2 separate regions of the Homo sapiens genome follow, and region 2 is linked to region 1. Evidence: promoter capture Hi-C in 16 types of primary human blood cells and fetal thymus (Javierre and others, 2016). All regions are on one chromosome and are shown on one strand. Each heading gives the region's core, a stretch centred on a gene start or on the middle of the fragment in contact. The rest is flanking DNA. Distances are from core to core; before and after follow the strand shown. Region 1 holds the start of G2E3 (G2/M-phase specific E3 ubiquitin protein ligase). Region 2 holds the start of RNU6-7 (RNA, U6 small nuclear 7).

What was found. The method cuts DNA at HindIII sites, captures the fragments that hold promoters and counts their contacts. A CHiCAGO score of 5 or more calls a contact.
Region 2: a fragment that was not itself captured here is called in contact with the fragment with the promoter of G2E3 in region 1 in 1 of 17 cell types (total CD8 T cells); the score reaches 8.5 in total CD8 T cells.

Annotation. Positions count from the first base shown.
Region 1 is chr14:30,554,934-30,562,162 of GRCh38, forward strand. G2E3 (G2/M-phase specific E3 ubiquitin protein ligase) reads left to right here and starts at 4,225. Exons shown (of 15, transcript NM_017769.5): 1 at 4,225-4,339. It overlaps G2E3-AS1 (G2E3 antisense RNA 1), which reads right to left. Exons shown (of 4, transcript NR_151720.1): 3 at 5,804-5,902. RefSeq lists an enhancer at 3,891-4,080. The HindIII fragment of the contact is 9,808 bases long and covers 3,491-7,229 here.
Region 2 is chr14:32,201,639-32,208,867 of GRCh38, forward strand. It overlaps RNU6-7 (RNA, U6 small nuclear 7), which reads left to right and starts at 407; the gene lies at 407-513. RNU6-8 (RNA, U6 small nuclear 8) reads right to left here and starts at 1,631; the gene lies at 1,525-1,631. RefSeq lists enhancers at 1-18, 99-158, 1,256-1,801, 1,802-2,346, 4,662-4,821 and a silencer at 1,436-1,615. The HindIII fragment of the contact is 224 bases long and covers 5,050-5,273 here.

The DNA.
Region 1 (7,229 bases), core at 2,975-5,474:
TATGTTTTATAAATATTTTATCATTGTCCCTCATTTATCTTTCAATGTGTCATGGTGACTTTTGCTGTTCAAATATTTTAAACTTTAACATAATGAAACATACTCATCTTTTATTTTATGGTTTCTAGGATTCCGGTCTTGCTCTGTCACCCAGGCTGGAGTGCAGTGGTGCAACAGCTCACTGCAACCTCCAACTCTTGGGCTCAAGGGATCCTCCCACCTCAGCCTCCTGAGTAGCTGGGACTACAGGTGCACACCACCACACCCAGCTAAATTTTTTAAAAAATTGTTTTTCGTAGAGCCAGCAGTCTCACTATGTTGCCCAGGCTGGTCTCAAACTCCTGGCTTGAAGTGCTCTTCCCGCCTTGGCTTTCTCAAAGTGCGAGGATTACAGGCAAGAGCTACTGCACCTGGCCCTGCCTTGTTTGAGAAGTCTCTTCTACCCTAAAGTCACAGTTACCGTTCTAAACTTCTCCCCAATATACTTTTGTTTTATTTTTTAAAATTTCAATCTTTAATGTTTCTAGAATTTATTTTGGTATATGATAAAAGGTACAGGCCTAACTTTATATCTTCCATATAGCTGGCCAGTTATTTCCAGTTCTTGTTAATTTATGAATGAACCCATCCTTTTCCTGAAAAGGAAATATCACCTTTATAATATATTAATATTCTCTATATAGTTTCATTTTTCTGGATTCTCTTTTTCTTTTTTGTGCTAATACTATATTTTTTGTCTGATTTTTTTTTTTGGCTACTCTTTGTAGCAGCTTTGTGGTAAGTTTTTACTCTCTAGTAAGACAAATTGTCTACTCCTGACCTCTGTTTTCTTTTTCTAATATGTCTTAACAATTCTTACATATTAATTTTCCTATATGAACATTGAAATCACTTATGTTCTCAAATTATATTTTAAAGTAGCAGGTTCTATATCTTTCTTTAAAGAAAATTTCTTTAAAACTGTATTTAAAATTTAAAAATTATTTTAAATTAAATTGAATTCTAATTTGATTTTGTGAATTTTCTTTAAAATTTATTTCTACGCATTTTATCATTTCTGTTACTCATGTTGGTTGTGGTAAAAACCTTTTAGAGTAGATTATAGGAATTCTTCTGCCAAAGCAGTTTATGTTGTTTCTTCCATGTAAAATTGATGACCCTTGGTCCCAGGAGTGTTTTTGTTTTGTTTTCTGCTGTATGTGGATTGAATAGGAAGAGGAAAGCAGGAAAGAGAGGTTACATTAGCTATGACTAAAATTTTCTAAGAATTCAGTTCTCAGCTAGTTCACATTACTGAGGGATTATCAGAGACTGAATAAAATTCTTAATTTTATTCTTCATTTTTTGCAGCATGTATTAAGTGGAATACTTATATCAATTTCACTCAATTTAAAATGTTTATAAGCTCTCAGAATGCCTGGTCTGATGGCCAGGTTTGTTAGATTTAAGTACGTCCTGCAATGAATATTTTCTTTCAAAAGTCCTTAAATTGTGGCCGGGCGCGGTGGCTCACGCCTGTAATCCCAGCACTTTGGGAGGCTGAGGCAGGAGAATGGCATAAACTCAGGAGGCGGAGCTTGCAGTGAGCAGAGATCACGCCACTGCATTCCAGCCTGGGCGACAGAGAGAGACTCCGTCTCAAAGAAGTCCTTAAGTTGTATGTACTCAGGCTCTTTGATTTAGTCAGTGGGTATTTATTGAAGATCTTTTTTGTTCACAAAATGCTGTAACATTACTTGAATATTGTTTGTATTCAAAATCACCTATACTCACTCTGGGTGAAAAAAAAAGAACAACATTTTAATTAGTACAGATAACCAGATAGTCCATTCAGTGAACACCAACCCTAGACAATTAATACAATTAAGCCTGGCTAATCTTATGGAAAAAAATGTGAATGACTTTACAGGGCTCTCCACCACTGATGAGAACTGAATCTCATTATTCCAAGTGATGGCCAGGCTGCGGGGTGATAATGACTTTGACAACATTTTAGCGGAAGAAATTGAAGAATTAATTAAGGGTTGTAGAGAAGAACTGACCAAGGAGAACTCAGGGGACAAACTGAAAAAAAAAAAAAAAAACACAAAACCTTGCTCATAGAGTTGTATAAAGAAAATCATATATATATATATAATCTTTTGGGTGGCTTTTCCAGGGCATTTTTAACTTTTGTATACAGGTCAACTTGAGAATTTAATTCCTGTGAAGGATAAGAATGGTGGGAAGGTGCCAAGAATTATGAAAGACATAGGAAAATATATAACATAGTTTCTGCCTTCAAGAAACTTCAAGGAGCAATATATTTAACGGGGTCATATTAGATATGTAAACATAAAATAATACACTATATCATGAATGACAAAATGTGTGGTCAAATCATTATATGTAATTGTAGAAAGAACTGTTGAATGAATGAATGGACATAGACTATCCAAACATTAGAAATTTATACGCTCATTAAACCTGATTTTGTATCTAGAATGTATTCAATTTCTAGCAATCTTCCTTAAAGAACAAAATTGCAAAATTAAAAAAAAAGTTTATTATCTTAAAAATTCAACTGGTGATAAAGTGAAAGGTAAAAGTTCTCCATCTCTTCCTACTCTTATTTACCAGCCCGCTCCCAGAGATGTTTACAGCTTAGGTATCCATCCCAAAACTTTGTATACCATATACACACACATACTTTCAAACAAGGATACTACAGTCCTTCTTAAACTTTTTCAGTATTTCATTTCAGTACCCGCTGATCTACTTCATTACTTTTAGTGCCCGCAGCGTCAGTATATCAGATGCTAAAGTATCATAACTTACATGTATTTAACCCCTTCCTTATTTGTAGACACAGATTATTTTCTATCTTCCACTGTTAAAAACAGTACATCAGTTAATAGCTTTACACACCCCCTGTGTCAGATTACCTGTAGCATAGGTTCTCAGAAATCTAGTAAACCTTTCAAACTGTATTTTTTTTTTTTTTTTTTTTTTTTTTTTGAGACAGAGCCTCGCTCTGTCGCCCAGGCTGGAGTGCAGTGGCGCAATTTCTGCTCACTGCAAGCTCCGTCTCCCGGGTTCACACCATTCTCCTGCCTCAGCCTCCCGAGTAGCTGGGACTACAGGCGCCTGCCATCACGCCCAGCTAATTTTTTGTACATTTAGTAGAGACGGGGTTTCACCATGTTAGCCAGGATGGTCTCGATCTCCTGACCTCGTGATCCACCCGCCTCGGCCTACCAAAGTGCTGGGATTACAGGCGTGAGCCACCGCGCCCGGCCCTCAAACTGTATTTTTGACAAAGGCTAAAGGTATGCTGTCATGGTTTGGTTTGTACTGATCCGTTTAGGTAATTCAATGTTATTAGATGTGAGGATGATCTGGTGGCAACATCAATCACAGCCATAAAGGTCAGAGTTATTTAGCGCCCCTCACCCCCTAGCATTTCCAGTCCTTCCTTTAGTTTCTGGAAGCTCCCAGATGTCTCTTCAGAAGCTTAAGACGTTTTGGATCAAAGACATACTGTGGTCCTCGATAAAGGAAAAGATACTGTTGTTTCAATAATCTCACGGGACAATACTTAATAATCTCGTAAAGTGAGCCCTTATCTGAGGGGGGAAATAAAATTTATTGCCTTCTAACACCATCAAATAGTTTATTTGAGACCAGGAATTGGTCCGACCACTTATTTTCAACTTTTGGCTGAATACGGGTGAACTTGGCTTTTTGTTTTCCCTAAACCCAGGACAGAAATAAATTAAAAGCCCTGACTGTGCCGGGATAGGACTGAGAGGCCCAGGAAAGGCTGCACTAAGTACTTGGAGGGTTTGTTTTTTTCCTTCTTGCTGCTGCTGCTGTTTCCTCGAGGATGAAGGGAAAGATAAAACCCTCCTGCCTCCGTTCGTGCTTTCATTCGCCCCATTCCTCGAAGGTGACGAAACTTCAGCACATCTCTGTCCATTTTGGAAAAAAGAGGATCCCCTCAAGAGCAAATAGGCGGAAACAATGACCCCGCGCCCGGAGTTTTTCTGAGCTCCTAAATAGGGAGAGAGACCCGACAAAACAAACAAGCGAAGGCGACACAGCCAGGTTAGCACCGAGCAGCAGCGCAGGAGCGCCAGAAGGGCGGGAGCACACGGGCCCTTCCCCACAGCCAGCGCCTCCGCGGGTCCCACCCCTCGAGGGCGGGGCCGACCGCTCTTTCCGGGTTTGCGAGCGGAAGTGGACGAATTTGAATCCTGTGGGCCGTTGAATGTGGCTGCTCGCGGTCGGCGTGCCCCGACGTACAGCGGGCCGGGAAAAGTGGCACTGAGGCTCTGGAACTTCTGCCCAGCTCTCCTTGGTGAGTAAATGGGGAACGGGAAGACGCAGAACGTTCCAGAGAGAGAAGCAGGACCGTGGGGTGGGAGAGGGTGTCAGGAGGCCGGACGTCGCAGCCGGGGCCTCGCAGTGCTTTTGGGGACGTCTGGTGCTGGGGCCCGGCCTGGAGACTAAGGGAATTCGGGGCACTGGGGGCGTTTGCTGGACCAGCGCTCTCGACGGTTGCGCACGCCAGCCAGCTCTCAGTGTTGAGGATTCGGAGGCCCTGCCGGTCCCCCGCGAGTAAACCTTGTTTATACGCATCCTCCGTGGCTTTTTTTAAACCCGTAGTTTATTATTTCCACCAATTCGGCTCGAATGCTGAAATTTTAACAGTAGTTAAATCTCACTGTGAAGGCGTTGCCACGTTTAAACAAATCTCTTTTAATGAAAGATGGAAGGTTGGGGCGGGTTTAGAATGAAAAGATGCTCTACGTGGCTCCGCGTTCCTCCTGAGAGAGATACCCGGGCAACCTTGATTAACTCTGGACTGCAGGGAAGTGACAGTCTTTGAAATGCCTGAGTGGGATTTAAACTGAAATTCGAGTGTCCTTTGTATTTAAAACCCGGATATTTTTCTTTCACGGTTGACATTTTTCATGTACCGCAAAAATCCGAGACTCCTATTTAAACCGGCTGTGGTAACAGCGGTGGTGATTAACTAGGGTCTTAGTTTGCAAACAATAGGGATAAGGTTTAGTTCCACCGCCCTGCCTTTTCGCCTCCCTCATTCATTGGCCAACTGGGTTATTATGGAGTCTTTTTGGAAGTAATCCACTAATGCTTTGAGCATCTGTTTCTTTGGGTTTTATTGTTTTGGGCTTTTTTTTTTTTAATTTTTAATGATGAACTATCTGAAATATGGAACTCTGTCTAACCCAGTAGTAAAGTCATGCCTTCTGGAATGGTTTAAAAGTGTGCCATAAATGTAAACTATAAATGGGAACTTTAAATGTGTACAAGTTTTACATCTTTATTAAAAATCGTCAGTTTTGTGTAGCTTAATACGAAAAGATATTTTAAGTTCCTTTTAAGGTTTTAACACCAGGATATTGTACCATTTAAATGTATAAATATATTTTTAAAAGTAGGACTTCATAATAATCAGAATAAAAACATTCCTTCATCCAGTGCTGGCTATTCCAGCACCCCCATTCTTCCTGCTATTGAACTTTTAAGTGTTAGCCAGGAAGAATAGACTTAAATACTCGGTGTTTAGGATAGTTAAAATATGAGCATTTTTCATATAGTGTCTTTGTAACAGAGACATTGGCTATACTTCTCTAAGCCTTTCTGCTCATTTCATATGTGCTGTCAACAAATGGTAATTTTTAAAAATTGATCGCTATATCCTAATCTCTTTATTTTTTTCTACCTGAATTATTTTCATTGGATTTTTGCTCTTTCTTAAATCAGTGAGTTTCAGAATTTATTGTGTATACACTACCTTGAAGGATTTGTTCAACAATGCTGATTCCTGCACTTCAGATCTCAGATTCTGAATCAGTAGGTCTGGAGGATGGCATTGAACAGTCTGCATATTTAACTGAAAGGTTAGAAAATACTGTGAGTTTTCAAAACACTGATTTGATCTTTCCTAGAAAGGCATTATAATGTGTTGATTAAAGACATGGAACTGGGGCCAGATTGCCTTGGTTTGAAGCCCATCTCCACCACTTGATAGCTAGGTGACCCTGGGCAAGCTGTTTAACCTCTCTGCTTCATTTCCCTCTACCGTATGATGAGGTTACCTACTTTGTAGGATTATTGTGAGGATTGAATGAGTTAATATATACAAAGACCTTAAAATAGTGTGTGCCACATAGCAAATGATACATAAGTCTCCAATTACATTGAGTTACTAAACTGTAAAAACCGCATCACATACATTCTCTCATTAATCTTTACAATATCGCTGAGGTAGTTACTATCTTCAAATAAGAAAACAGGCTAAGAGGGGCTCGGTAATTTGTTCTCACACAACTAGTAACACGTTGGAACTGAAGTCGGAAATTAGATTTAACTCAAAAGTTTATGCTTTTTTAAAAAAGTAATATTTCTTGCCTCTCTTCAGTCTCCCTCCAGATGTTGCTCCATAAGTATCTCTGATGGCTTCTCATTGTCTACCATATATAATTCAAATTTCTTAGCTTTGCTTTTTATTTACAGAGCCCTTCAGAGTCTGGTACCAACTTCTCTTCCCAAGGACCATCTTCATAATATTACACCAGTCTCTTCCAACCTGCTGATGTTCTATCAATACTACTAGAATTCTCCAAATCTATCTCTTATTACATTTTATGCATATTTAGCCATTGGCCTTTTTATTTCCCCTTAAGATTTTACTCAAATGGGTTTAAAGACTTCTCCAGGCTGTGCTTTTTGCTTATAAATATATAGTGCGAGACTGCCCTTGTCCTTTTAATTTTTATGTCTGCAGTGCACAGTGCAGAACAGTGAGTGTCATGATACTCTGAAACTGTGTATGTTCAGTGAGTACTTATTATTTTAACAATTTAACACATTTTGTCTTGGGTTAATGACTCAAAAAGTTGTTGCTTTTTTTTTTTTAAGGCTTGGCTTTTTTCTGAGATGATAGCATATAATTCTGTGTAGTTTAGTAGAGATTTTAGTGATAGCATATGGTTTATAAACTATGGAAAAATAAGTATTGAAATTATAGGCTCAGAGGACATTTCAAGTGGCAAAAAATCAGGAGCAATGTTTGTTAATATTCATGAATTTAAAATGCTTTATACATATTTTCTCACTTAATCCTCACAACCATTTTATTATCTCTATATTAAGATGAAGAAACTGAGGCACCAAAAGATTTAGTAGCTTTTAAAATGTATTTTTAAAATATTTAATTT
Region 2 (7,229 bases), core at 3,912-6,411, 1.6 Mb after region 1:
CTCAGAGAGACTTCGGGGAGACGCCAAGCGCTCCAGGCCGGCCCTGTCCTCTGCGCTCCACTGCTGCCGCACGGACTGCCAGACTCCCGGCATGCTCTGCGGACTGAAGTCCGCGGCACGAGAAATCAAAGCCCCGGGGCCTGGGTCCCACGCGGGGTCCCTTACCCAGGGTGCCCCGGGCGCTCATTTGCATGTCCCACCCAACAGGTAAACCTGACAGATCGGTCGCGGCCAGATACGGCCTGGCGGTCAGAGCACCAATCTTACGAGCCTTGTGATGAGTTCCGTTACATGAAATTCTCCTAAAGGCTCCAAGATGGACAGGAAAGCGCTCGATTAGGTTACCGTAAGGAAAACAAATGAGAAACTCCCGTGCCTTATAAGACCTGGGGACGGACTTATTTGCGTGCTCGCTTCGGCAGCACATATACTAAAATTGGAACGATACAGAGAAGATTAGCATGGCCCCTGCGCAAGGATGACACGCAAATTCGTGAAGCGTTCCATATTTTGCGCGGTTCAACGAAGGTCGTTGGGCAAGATACGGTGGTGTTCCTAGAGGTTGTTCAAGATCTCTCGGGGCCTGCATTTTCCTGCTCGCGAGCTTGGCCCAGTAGACACCTACGATGCTGTCCGGGCCTCCCACCAGTCCTGTCGCACAGTGGGCACACTTCCTCGACAGCCTCCATCTTCGAGGCGCCTAGTTACGTTACTATTAAGTTACCTAGGTGATCCTCGTATCTGCGTCCAAATACTTGTTTTCATTGATTAAAATATGCTTTCAGGCTGGGCAATGAACATTCCTCCTAATCAAATTTCCCATCACAGAATCTGTCCGATTTATGTAAATCGGCCCTTTCTAAGTACTTCTTAGAGGATACATGAAAACAGAAGACTCGTGAAAACAGATCCAGATGGGCTTGCTACTTGTGGCCAGTATTCACATGGGTCCTGGAGCTCTTGAATCTATAGGCAAAGGCCAACATTGATTTCCAATAATACCAGCCCTTAGTAACATTCCTTTCCTTTGTGCAGCTCGCAGTCTAAGAGAAAGGGTGTAAGCACTCAGGTCTAAGATGATGGAGAATGGCACAAAGTAGGCGCAAGAAATGAGCGCTAATGTTTCCTTCCTTTAGTAGAGATTTATTAGGTTAGGAAAGATTTAGTAAGGATTTATTGAACAATTCATATGCCAGTTGGTCTTCTACTGAACAAAAGCCAAACAAGCTGGGGCTCTGGAGTTTGTGTTGTTTGGTGAGACAAGACCGTAAGTCTATTTCAGAATGAAAAGTTCAATGAAGAAGGCACAAGGTGACCTTTTTCCATTTCCAAAATGCGTATTAACGATCTATTCGCACACAACATTCCTCGGGTGACTCTGCTTCGTTCCCACTTCATAGATTTCACAAATTTTTTGTAATGAAAACCACTGTTTCGTCATTGGGTGCCACACGTTTTCGCTTAGATTCACACTGTTTCCTTAGTACTAATTAGCAGATACTGAAATGATCTTGACAGACTGCGCAAAATATGGAACGCTTCACGAATTTGCGTGTCATCCTTGCGCAGGGGCCATGCTAATCTTCTCTGTATCGTTCCAATTTTAGTATATGTGCTGCCGAAGCGAGCACGTTGAGAAGAAGTCACCCACAGGCCTTATAAGGCACGGGAGTCTTTCACCTATTCTACTTACGGTGACCGAACCGCGCCCTTTCCTGTCCATCTTGGAGCCTTTGGGAGAATTTCATGCAACGGAACTCATCACAAGGCTCGTATGTTTGGTGCTCTGACCGCCAGGTCGTACCTGGCCGCGATGACCTGTCAGGTTTACCTGTTGGGTGGGACATGCAAATGAGCGCCCGGGGCACCCTGGGTAAAGGGCCCCGCGTAGGACCCAGGCCGGGGGCTTTGAGTTCTCGTGCCGCGGAGCTCAGCCCGCGGAGCATGCCGGGAGCTGCCAATGCTGCGGCCGCCTCTGAGCGCGCGGCGGGGTCCAGCGCCCAGGCGAGCTGGAGACGCCCCGATAACGAGGCTGCTGCGGCACCGAGAGGGCCGGCCCGGGGTCGGCGCGCACCTTTAGAACAGGTCGTTTCACCATTAACTTCCTCTGATGAGTAATTTTTTTTAAAAAAGTAATTAACCGACCATTATCACACCTAGAAAAGTTAAGGTAATTCCTTCATGGCACCTAATATTCAGTCTACTTTCAAATTTCCTTATTTCAGAAATTCCTTATTACAGTCGAATTGTCATAGAGATCCAAACAAGGTCCCAGGTTGTATTCGGTTGCTACGACCCTGGGTGTCTATTGTCCTCTAATTGCCCTCGCCTCGTTTTTCTTCACGTCATTCGTATACTGAGGGATATTTGCCCTGTGGATTGTCGCAGATCTTGGGATTTGGCCCATTACTTACTGATGGTGTCGTTTAACTTGTTTCTCTAGCCTCCATGTTTCTTGAAAATTTATGGTTAGGGGTAATGGACTCATTAGATTCTGGTTGTGTTGTGTTTTGTTTTGACGCCCGCACGGCTTCAAACACAGTGGTAGGGTGTGTGCTTACTGCACCTCAGCAAGAGTAGTGTATCCGCTGGCTGTCCCCGTGTGAGTGATGCCTACCCCTGACCTGTGGGTGCAGGTGCGGTCAGCCGTCTGACCCCTCACACTATAAAGTCTCCCAGAAATCTTTCCTTTAATGATTTTAGGATACACCCATGAACAAGCCAAGTAGAAGGTCTGGTCTGGTGGTTTGCTTGCTTTTTGTTTTGTTTTGAGGACACGTTGTAATTGTACATATTTATGGGGTGCAATTTGATGTTTCGATACATATCTATGTTGTATAACGATCCAATCAAGGTAGTGTATCCACCACCTCATGCATTTATCCTTTCTCTGTGGTGAGAACATTCAGTAGCCTCTCTTCTATTTTGTGGTATACAAAATTTTACTGTTAACCATTTTCACCCTACCGTGCAATAGAGCATCAGAATTTTTTCCCTCTTCTTTAATTGTATCTTTGTACCCATTAACCAATGTTTATAAACAAACATTGTGAGTTTGTGAGTTATAAGTTTACTTGTGAGTTATAAGGATTTAACCCCTGGCCTGTGGTGGCCAAGTTCTGTATCCCATGGAAGAGAATTGAGAGAATAATAGGATCAGGGAAAGAAATTAGGAAAGAGTGTTGATGTCATTTGAGTCTCTGGATCATTTGATCCCATGAGCAGGTGCTTTCCATAGTTGTTTGGTTACTCGTTCTAACAAATTACTTTTATTAGGCTAGATTAAAGTTGTTTTTGCCAAATGCAAATATGAGATCTTAAACATTTGTGAGTTTAGCATGTCTTCACACTGCACACTTGCAACATTAAAACATTATTGGCTTCTGCTAAACTCAAAAATATTTAAGATGCCGTATTTGCATTTTGACAAAAACAACTCTAGTGTTAGTACCCGTGGTTAAGCATATATGAATTTCCAATCACGTTTTTTTTTAGGAGGAAATAGTGTTCTTTATCACATCCTTATAGGAAAGTTATGAGGTAGGTGGCTATTTAATTAAATAATATTTTGTATGATTTGACTCATTTGAGAACGATGAGTCTTTTTTTTTTTGAGACGGAGTCTCACTCTGGCAACCAGGCTGGAGTGCAGTGGTGCGATCTCGGCTCACTTCAACCTCCGCCTCCCAGGTTCAAGTGATTCTCCTGCCTCGGCTTCCCAATTAGCTGGGACTACAGGCGTGCGCCACCACGCCCCGGCTATGTATTTTTAGTAGAGACGGGGTTTCGCCGTGTTGGCCAGGCTGGTCTCAAACTCCTGACCTCAGGTGATCCACCTGCCTCAGCTTCCCAAAGTGCTGGGATTACAGGCGTGAGCCACCGCACTCCCCCCACCACCCTCACGATGAGTCTTACTTAATAGGAATTATTAACAAATTGGCTTTAAGAAATTTATTTAAAGGATTTTTTCAGTGAGACAAATGTTTTATTTTTATATTCTGGAACATTTGAACTCATCAATAAACATAATAATTTTAACGATTTACATTAACTGAAATAAAACAACTGCCTTTCCTTTGTGACATGTAAAACTATGGTGCATTTCGCAATCAATGACATTTTAGATCCAAAGAGATGTATCTTATTTTTTGGAAGAGGAAACTGAGGCTGATATAAGTGTAGTGACCTCCCTGGGCAAGATTGGCCACTGGTCCTACCATCTTCTGATGCCGAATTCATTGCTGTTTTCACTGCACCATTTGTAGTATTACTAGGTCATACTATTTGCAGTAAACTGCAAAGAAAAAGATAAAGACCTCAAGCCTGCCATTTTACAATTATATTTCTGAGTTCTGCTCATTTGACTGCAGAACAAGACAGCACACACTAAGTGGAAAGCTGACCTTGTTCTTTTTACTCACAGAAAGGGCACATTTGGTGATGTGACACAATTGAAAGTCAAAAACCACAGGTCATTTCCTCTTCAGGAATTTTGCTCTAATTAAAAAGAAGAAGAAACTCATCCTAAATCCTCACATCCTCTTTAGCAAGGAACAGATGAGTCATTTAGAACCACAGCATCAATGACCGGCGTCACCTGGTGTGAAATTGGTGAACTCCAGGTGGGAAACAAAGGTTATCAACCTGGGCTGCAGGTCGCAATCACAAGAGCTTTTAAAAATACGAGTGACTGAGTCCTCCCCTGGAGATTCTGACTTTGTTATTGTTGTTTTTAGACAGGGTCTTCACTATGTTGCTTAGGCTGATCTGGAACTCCTGGGTTCAAATGATCCTTCTGCCTCAGCCTCTCAAGTAGCTGGGTTTACAGGTGCACACCACTGTGCCTGGAAAGAGATTCTGATTTAATTGTCCTGAGTACGGCCGGGGTGTCTGTGAGATATCTTTCTGCATTCTCCCTCTGCCTCTCTCTTTCTCTCCACGCCTCCTGTGAGCTCTCAGCCTTTATAAGATCTTCTTTGGGCTTGTCAGCACCCTTCTTTCTTTCCTCTCTTCTCCTTTCTTTTCCATCAGACACACTACATCAGGTGAAGCTTGTTTCGAGTTCCCCACCAGGCCCCTTTCTTTGCTACTGGCTTCCTTTTATGGCCATACTTCCTTCCCTCATAATGCACCCACTGGCTCCCCAAGACTCCTCCTAAATGTCCCACTTACAATTGTAAGGATATTTAAAGACTCATCAGTCTGGGTTTTATTTCTTCAGGGCTCTGCTAACTAACTCCACAAACTAAAATATACTAGAACAGTATTTCTCAAGCTTTCTTAGTGATAGATTCCCAGACCCAACTTCTTACAGTTTCCAGAGGATTGACTTATGCCACTGTATTCAGAGAATCACTGGCATATCACCCATATGACCTATCTGTGTTTTAATGGCTACTTTTAATGAAATGAGAAAGTCACTCTGGTAAAGCTGATGTGAGATATTTTGGTGCTTGGAGCCCTTTCATGGCAACCAGTTCCCTAATGTGTAGAAGATGTGTAAACCTCATGTTCTGTTTTATGGTAGGGAAAAAACCATGTCAGAGAGGAACTTCTTAATTTCTTGTAATTACTACAAATTTAACTCTATATACACTCATCCACTTTTCTGAAATGTTATTTCAGAAAAATGTTATTTACAAATAGATGTTATTTGTATGGAAAAAACATTTGTGCCCAGGTAGAAAACTGGATTGTCTGGAAAATACAAAATCTGATTCACATTCTATGGAAGCTATTTTACAACTCTGTAGATTGTAGATAACTGATGGCAGTTAATAATTTCTGTTTATAGCTGTGCAAATTCTCTCCTGACTGGAAGTTCAATTGACTTCTCTTCACCACTATGGAAGAACCCAGTTTTGCTTCCATTTGCACATTCAACCTTCCTTTATTCCACATAATTTTTTTATTTCTCTTTTGAACTAGTTGTAACGTCTCCTGCGTTTCCGCATTGATTCGTGATAAAATCTTTAACGTGTGTTCATTTTTTATGTGTATGAGAGGCATGATTTTATCCACTTTTTTAAAAAAATTGTCTTTTTAAAAGTTTGGAGGTCTTCCAATGAGTTGTCTATTGGATTCATCTTAACAAAACCAGATATACGTTTCACCAGACTAGCTTGTGGGCTGCTTAAAGCCCAAACACATTTTTTTCTTGGCTGCCAAATGACAATAGAACTTTGGTGACTCTGTTTTTCTAATTTTAATATTTTTCTCTATTAAGTTTGTGATTTGTCTCTGTTTTGCTTCCAGCCAGCCAGTGTGTCTGCTGTACTGGGTGGAAACAATGATTGGGAATTTGGTGTCATGGTCTAATCATTTGGTAAGCTCTGTGAATGGATTAATATTTATAGAGATCTAGTCTCTGTTGGGTGACAGACTATAGAGAAACTAGTTTATTAGTCTTGTTTATACACCTTTTGTCCATTTTGGGCTCAAATCAATTAAGAATATTGTGCCCATCAAGAAGGGGAACAGCTCTTTGATATCTGAATTAGTAATTTTTTTTGTGCTTCCGTGTTTATTCTTGACCCGTGAGTGAAATTTTAGAATTAAAGCTATAAACTCTATGTCTGCATGTTTGTAATTCAGAAAGGTCTTTATCTCTCATTATATGAATGTGTAATGCTTTCCTAAATCCAGAGGGTGTTAACAACTTAGATTATGAAATCTCCTACATTAAAGGAGTCCGGTTCTGATTGATTTAAGACAAAGGTCCCCAGCCCCCAGGCAATGGACTGGTACCTGTCTGTGACCTGTTCGGAACCCGGCCGCACAGCAGGAGGTGAGCAGAGGGCATGCGAGCATTGCCTCCTGGTAGATCAGCAGCAGCATTAGATTCTCATAGGTGTACAAACCCTATTGTGAACTGTGATTGTGAGGGATCTAGGTTGCACCTTCCTTATGGGAATCTAATGCCTGATGATCTGAGGTGGAACAGTTTCATCCCCAAACCGTCTATCCCGCCAACCCCAGGGAAAATTTGTCTTCCAGGAAACCAGTCCCCGGTGCCAAAAAAAGTTGGAGACTGCTGGTTTAAGAGATGAATAAATGCTTACATAAGCATAGTATGCCAATAATGCCCAGAAAATAAGAAATGGAATTTCTAAAAATTTCAATGTGCTAGATTTAAAAAGTATTCCAAAAGCAACCAGCTTAGGAACATTTTAAGAATTCAAATTCACATAATTTAGGCAAATCTTTGGTAAACTAGACTGTTGTATTAA